Linked DNA regions of Homo sapiens: region 2 is linked to region 1. Evidence: promoter capture Hi-C in 16 types of primary human blood cells and fetal thymus (Javierre and others, 2016). All regions are on one chromosome and are shown on one strand. The core of a region is centred on a gene start or on the middle of the fragment in contact, and the rest is flanking DNA. Distances in the headings are between cores, read along the strand shown.

Evidence for each region. Contacts are between HindIII fragments. The CHiCAGO score rates a contact against its expected background, and 5 or more counts as called.
Region 2: a contact is called between the fragment with the promoter of LSM10 here and the fragment with the promoter of SH3D21 in region 1, in 1 of 17 cell types (endothelial precursors). The highest score is 5.6, in endothelial precursors.

What each region holds. Positions count from the first base shown.
Region 1 is chr1:36,304,864-36,308,074 of GRCh38, reverse strand. SH3D21 (SH3 domain containing 21) reads right to left here and starts at 1,707. Exons shown (of 16, transcript NM_001162530.2): 1 at 1,651-1,707; 2 at 1,320-1,477; 3 at 1,170-1,233; 4 at 790-908; 5 at 468-558; 6 at 250-305; 7 at 112-157. The coding sequence starts at 1,654. It overlaps THRAP3 (thyroid hormone receptor associated protein 3), which reads right to left. Exons shown (of 12, transcript NM_005119.4): 12 at 2,718-3,211. RefSeq lists enhancers at 807-856, 659-1,459 and silencers at 957-1,396, 1,617-1,666. The HindIII fragment of the contact is 29,085 bases long and covers 1-2,025 here.
Region 2 is chr1:36,396,146-36,399,356 of GRCh38, reverse strand. LSM10 (LSM10, U7 small nuclear RNA associated) reads left to right here and starts at 1,449. Exons shown (of 2, transcript NM_032881.3): 1 at 1,449-1,590. RefSeq lists enhancers at 880-1,591, 1,592-2,304. The HindIII fragment of the contact is 5,014 bases long and covers 1,057-3,211 here.

The sequences.
Region 1 (3,211 bases), core at 458-2,957:
AAGCCTCCCCCATCCATCAGCAGCCCCCACCTCCATCAGCCTAGCTGGCCCACCAAGTCACAACCTTGGGAGTGGCTGAGGGAGTGGGGGACCCTTTGGATGGGTGCTCACCTGTCTGCAGGTAGTCTGGAGGGCTGTCATAGGCCAGGCTGCTCAGCTAGTGGGGGAAGGGGCAGGGAGGAACTAGATGAGCCTCCAACCACCCCAAGAGGAACTCACCACCTCTGTGCCTACTCTGAGCCAACTTACCTTGGGAGGCCGCTGGGGACCAGGGCTGACTGAAGGCATGTCTGGGTTACCAAGGCCTAGTGGGGGACAGTGAGGTTAGGGAGGGTGCTAATTCACAGGTTAGGTCATGGGAGAGGGTCAGAGGGGTCACAGGGTCAGGATATGTGAATCACAGGCTCATGCCACTGGGAGGGTCATTGGAGATTGCGAGTCACAGGGTCACAGAGTCGAGGTCTCACTTGGGGGCCCACTGTCCAGCAATTCCACAAAGTTGGATGGGAAGGCTCCCAGCTGCCCGTTCTTCTTCCCCAGCCACCAGCCGTCCTCAATCTGGGGAGAGGGGAGGACGCAGAGGCGTCTGGTTCTGCCCCAAGAGTCCCTAGGATAATCTGCCACCCTTGGTTCTGCCCAAGCGCCCCTTCCTCCCTCCTTCCCTCCCGCGCTTCCCCGTATCTGCACCGTCGCCATTCCCACCGTCCACACCCTCACTTCCCACCCCGCTCACTAGGGAGGCGCGTTCCATCATCCTCCCCCAAACGGTCCCATCACCTCACCCCTCACCTCCTTTATCATTTCCACGATCTCCCCAGCTTGCAGCTTCAGCTCGTCCGCCTGCTCTGGGCTGTAGCTGAAGTTCACTTTGCACCATCTTTGGGGCCTCGGGTGTTTGGCAGGATGACCTAGCACCGGACAAGCGCGGCTGAGCTCCAGTCGGACGCCCCAGTCAGAGGAGCTGGGGGAAGCGCAAGGCGCGCACGTAGCCTTTGGTCCCTCCAGCCCCGCCCCAGGGCGGAGCATTGCACTCGAGAACCAATCACAGACCGCAGGGCGGCCCCGAGGTCCCGCCCAGAGCCGCGCCCGTCACTAAGAGCCGGAGACGCCGGGGTCGCACTGGCTCCGTGCACCCGCCCACCGGCGCCCGTCCCCGCCCTTGCGCTCACCTCGGCGGCGCGCACAGCGCGGCCTCCGCGCCTCTCCGGAGCCCCGCAGGGTCTCTGGGATCTCCTGGGAATCAGGGCACGGGGAAGGCGCTCTCAGCTCCCGGGGGGCGCGCGCTGAGACCCCACAGCCCGCCCCTGGCTCGGCCTCACCTGCACCAGGCGCTCGGGGAAGAGGCCATAGCGGCCCCCAAACTCTCCGCGAAGCCAGCCCCGCGCGGGCACCCAGCGCACCTGCCGGACCACGTCCCCGGGCGCCAGACTCAGCTCGTCCTCCTTCTGCGCGCGGTATCCGGCCAGGACGAGGACTTCTGCGGGCGGAAGACGGGGCCGGCGTGCGGCTCAGAAAGGCCCAGCCGGGCAGCCTGGCTAGGGCGGGCGTGTCCCCAAGCACCGTAGAGGGCAGCGGGGGTCGGGGGGTGGTGTGGGCTCTTGCTATGTCCACGGTTGCAGAGAGAGGCCACCTCAAAGCCTCCGCACTTACCCATGGTTTCCGGGGCGCCCTCCAGAGCCTGGCAGCTCCCTCTGACGGCCGAGTACTGGGCCCGCGCAGGGTGCGACCTGAGGCAAGACAGTAGGGTAAAGGAGGCGTAGCCGCCAGCCGATAGGTCGGGCCAGGTGCTGGGAGTGGGTGTGGAGAGGGGGCGGCCCGGCTCAGCAGGTCCGGCCCCCAACCCCGGGGTGAGGAGGACTCCAGGGTCTCTGGCCTGTGCAGCGGTCACAGCTCCGTCACAGGTTCTTCCGCCCACCTAAATTTTAGGCCAGCCGCCTCTCCCTTTCCCTCAGCTTTTGCCCGGAGGCTCCCAGCTACAATTTGCACAGAGCCTTTCCAGGCCCACCCTTCCCCAGCTCACAAGCTTTTGGCTTGAGGGGAAAAGGTGGGGAGAGGCACATACCAGGGTGGGGCCCCCCAGCAAGTAGCAACCGCTCTAAACCGGCCTTGAGTGAATGAAGTGGCTGCCCTTGTACCAGCAATAGCTTTGAGTGGACACTTCCAGTCTGCTTTCCTTCAAGGCGTACTCCTCTCTGGCCCCGTACCCACTCTCTACCCCCATATAGGAAGGACACAGCAAAGACCCCTGCTTTGGGGCCAGAGGTCTAGTTTGGTTTCAGAAAACACCTCCAGGTTTTCCCTGGGAGTTAGGCCGGGAGAATGAATTTTACCAGCTTCCAAGATTTCTGCTCACAGTTGAGTCCCCAGCCGGCAGGAGTCTGAAGGTTAGGGCCCACCCTATGGCCAGTCCATGTGGGATAGGCTCTTTCAGGTAGAAGGCTGAGCCTACTAACCACATCCCTTGATCCCTGCCCCACCACCATGATGAAGGAAGCCAAAGTCCTTGCCTATGACACCAGTGGAAAAAATCTGTTTCTCCTGGGGTGTCCAAGGTACACAATGCTCCTCCCAGGAAGGACTGTGTCTGTCTGGGACTCCAGCAGCCTGCGCAAGGCCCCACAGGCCCTTTGTCTTTCAGGTTTTCTGAAACTGCCGTGGGAAGTTATCTACCACCCTCAACACACACACACACTCAGGATGACAATGAACAGAACCCGTTTACATCTGCCACTTCATTTATTTTATTTGCAGGAGGAGTTGAAACAAATTTTAAGGGAGATTTTCATTTTCCCCCTAAACATGAATCATTCAAGTAAAACCAACTTAACTATAGAAATGTAGCAAAGTAAGGGGAAAGCAGCACAACAACGCAAGAGGCAAAGGCTGGGGGGGAGAGGTGGGTGCAGTCCGCATATAACATATGCATAAATGCCTTATGATTCACCTGCTCAGGACCGCCTCCCCAGAAGGCAAGCACAAGGACCCATTTTAAGAGGATGTTTCCCCCCAAACATCTGAGAATGCTTCAACTTAAACAGCTTAAGGTTAAAAAGACAAAGAAAAAAAAAAAGAAACCCAAAAAAACCCCTGAACCACCCAGCCATAACCACCTTCCTTAATCGATCATAGGAGTTTCTTTTCATTTTATAAAAAGATTAATAAAAAATATTGAAAAAATTTTCTCATATTTGTAAAGATAATAGAATTCATA
Region 2 (3,211 bases), core at 200-2,699, 92 kb before region 1:
GAAGATACTAACTTGCCCAAAGTCACAATTAGCCAGGAGTAGATTTGAACCTAGGCACTGTATCCGGAGGCTGCACTCCTAACCATGAAATCTAAACTCCTTACCTTGGCTCACAAAGCCCTATATGCTCTGGTTCCTGCTTCCTCTCTGGCCTCTTGTTATACCACTCTCCCCAGCTTCCCTGGCCTTTCCTGTGTTCCTAAATTGTCAAGGTCATTTCCCCCAGGTTCTTTGCATGAACTGTGAAAAGAAAAAATTTAACTTTTAATTGGTGATTTGACTTTTTTTTGCCAAATTTGTTAAATCTGACTTTTATTTGCAACTCTAGAATCGGGCAACACTTCATTCTATAAAATGGAATGAGTGTTCAAATGAGCTGAGCAGAGGAGATTGGTTTTACAGCCAGAAAAGGGCTGAGGAAAGCAGAAACAGAAAACAAAAAGATTGGTTGTTTCAAAGTTACTTTCCTTGTAACTTTGAAGGCTAAAGCAGAGGGGACTTCCTTATCCTGCCAGCTAAAACAGGATGGTTTGGAGATCTAGCTATCTCTCACTCTTCTGATTTATCGGAATATCAGATAAACAACTTAGTTTCCACTTGGTGATGTAGAACTTTAGCATGAGTGACTCCATTTTGGTTCTGTTGGGCTTGGTGCAGGAGCCCTGTTCAAACCAATGGCCTCCAATTTTTTTTTTTTTTTGAGACGGAGTCTTGCTCTGTTGCCCAGGCTGGAATGAAGTGTTACTTTCTGAGCTCACTGCAGCCTCCACTTCCTGGATTCAAGCAATTCTCCTGCCTCAGCCTCCCAAGTAGGTGGGACCAGAGGTGTACGCCACCACGGTGGGCTAATTTTTTCTATTTTTTGTAGAGACAGGGTCTCCCCATTGTTGCCCAGACTGGTCTCGAACTCCTGGGCTCCAGTGATCCTTCCGCCTTGTCCTCCAAAGTGCTGGGATTACAGGTGTGGGCCTCTGCACCCGGCCCTGCCTCCTATAAATTTTACTTAACAAACTGTTCCCGCTAATTGCAATGCTCCTCCCATAGTTTTCACAAGCTTGGCTTCATGTCACTAATCTCAACTCAAATGTCACCTTCTCAGGGCACCCCTGACAATCCAATAAAAGACCACCTTGTCACCATCACATCACACCTTTAATCTTCTGAAGAAATTTTTCCCTATTTTTCTTCTTTGTTTTCTTAAGACTCTCTCCCCTGCAGCGCCATCAGCTCAGGGAGCCACTTGATCTTGGTCACTGCTCCATGCCGGAGCCTGGGAAGGAGCCTGGCCCAGGTCGCCGGTTCAATGAATGCGTGCGGAATGAATGAACGACTCTAGTGAAAGAGACTCCAATGACGCAGGCCGGGATTTGCGGAGCACGAGCCCCGCGCCGCGAAGCATTCTGGGGATTGTAGTTTCTCCGTGACGCGGTGACTTGCAGAGCACTGACGCACTCTGCGCCCGGAGGACAGAGCGGCCCGGTCGCCGGCATGGTTTCTCCGTCCTGCTGCAGCCGGCGGGAGGCAGCCAGTCCAGGCGCCCGCTAGCTTCGGCGGCGACCCAGACGGGGAAAGCGGAAGGAATGTCGCGTGGTGGGTCCGGGTCGGCGGTGCAGGGAGCCCCGGGGCGGAATGCGGGGGATGCCAGGACCTCCGGAAGGAGGTGCCGGAGCCCAGGAAGCGTTTTCTTCCCCATTTACCGAGTATAGCTCCTTTCCCCAGACCCGCTCCCGCTGCTCTGAGTAAGCGGTGCTCATCCCGTTTTACCGGTAGCTTAGCTAGCTTGGAGAAGCTAAGTGGTTTGCTAAGTGATCGCCCTCCTAGGAGGTGGCAAAGCCTGTTCTAGAACCCGGGCCTGACTCGAGGTCCGGTGACTGCTCTTTGCAGTCGCAGCAGCAGCCCCATACCTTTGCTTGATCGCAGATTCATCAGGCTGCAGCCGGGTGGCTGGTCGTTAGGCCATGCCCAGGGACCTAGCTCCCAGGCCCCCTCGTCACTGGCCTAGTCTGGCTTGCCACGCTCAGTGCCACAATGCACAGCCCTGGACGGGATGCTGAGTGAGGTCGTAAAGAGAGAGCGTTCCACCCCCTTTAACTCAGGTCTGAAAATAAGGGATAGGTAAGACATAGTGCACTAATACATTATCAGGGCATGTTGAAATCAAAGGAGAGTACCTTTAGTGGAGTGTGATTCTGGTAGCTTTGTTTCTCCTGTAGTTTAATAAATGTGGAAACAGGTTCAGAGACATTAACTTTTCTAGGTTTTCATAATTAGGGGTGGAGTGGGGATTCCAACCTAGGTTTCTCTACCTTCAAAACCTATGTACCTTATATAATACCGGTTGGGGGTTTTTTTCCCCAATTCATTATCCAGATTTATTTTCTTTTTTTTTTTCTGAGAGTCTCGCTGTGTCACCCAGGCTGGTGTGCAGTGGCACAATCTTGGCTCACTGTAACCTCTGCCTCCTGGGTTCAAGCGATTCTCCTGCTTCAGCCTCCCAAGTAGCTGAGATTACAGGTGCGCCCATGCCCAGGTAATTTTTGTATTTTTGGTAGATACTGGGTTTCACCATGTTGGCCAGGCGGGTCTTGAACTCCTGACCTCAGGTGATCCACTCGCCTTGGCCTCCCAAAATCCTGGGATTACAGGCGTGAGCCCTTGCACCCGGCCTCATTACCTTAATTTCTACTTACATAACAGCTGCATGGTGTAGACCAATAGTTCCCAGAGTGTGGGCCCCTGACCAGCAGCATCAGCATCACCTGGGAACATGTTCAAAATGACTTTATCTCTGGGCCTCACCTCAGACCTGAGTCAAACTGGGAGTGGGGCCCAGCAAGCTGAGTTAACAAGCCCCTCAGATGATTCTGATACACACTAATGTTTGAGAACTACTGGTGTCAACCAATGATTCTCAAACCTTAACGTGTATCTAATTCACGTAGGGGGTCATGTTAAAATGCAGTCTGTTTCCAGCCAGCGTGGAAGATGGCAGTGAGCCACTCAGTGAAGGAGTGGATTTTATCTCAGAACAGGCTTGGGGAGAGACCTGAGATTGCGCATTTCTAACCAGTACCCCTCAGCACTTTGGAGTTATCTGGGGAGCTTTCTTTTTTTTTTTTTTTTTTTTTTTTTTGAGATGGAGTCACTCTGCTGCCCAGGCTGGAGTGCAGTGGCACTCCACTTGCAGCTCACTGCAAGCTCTGTCTCCCAG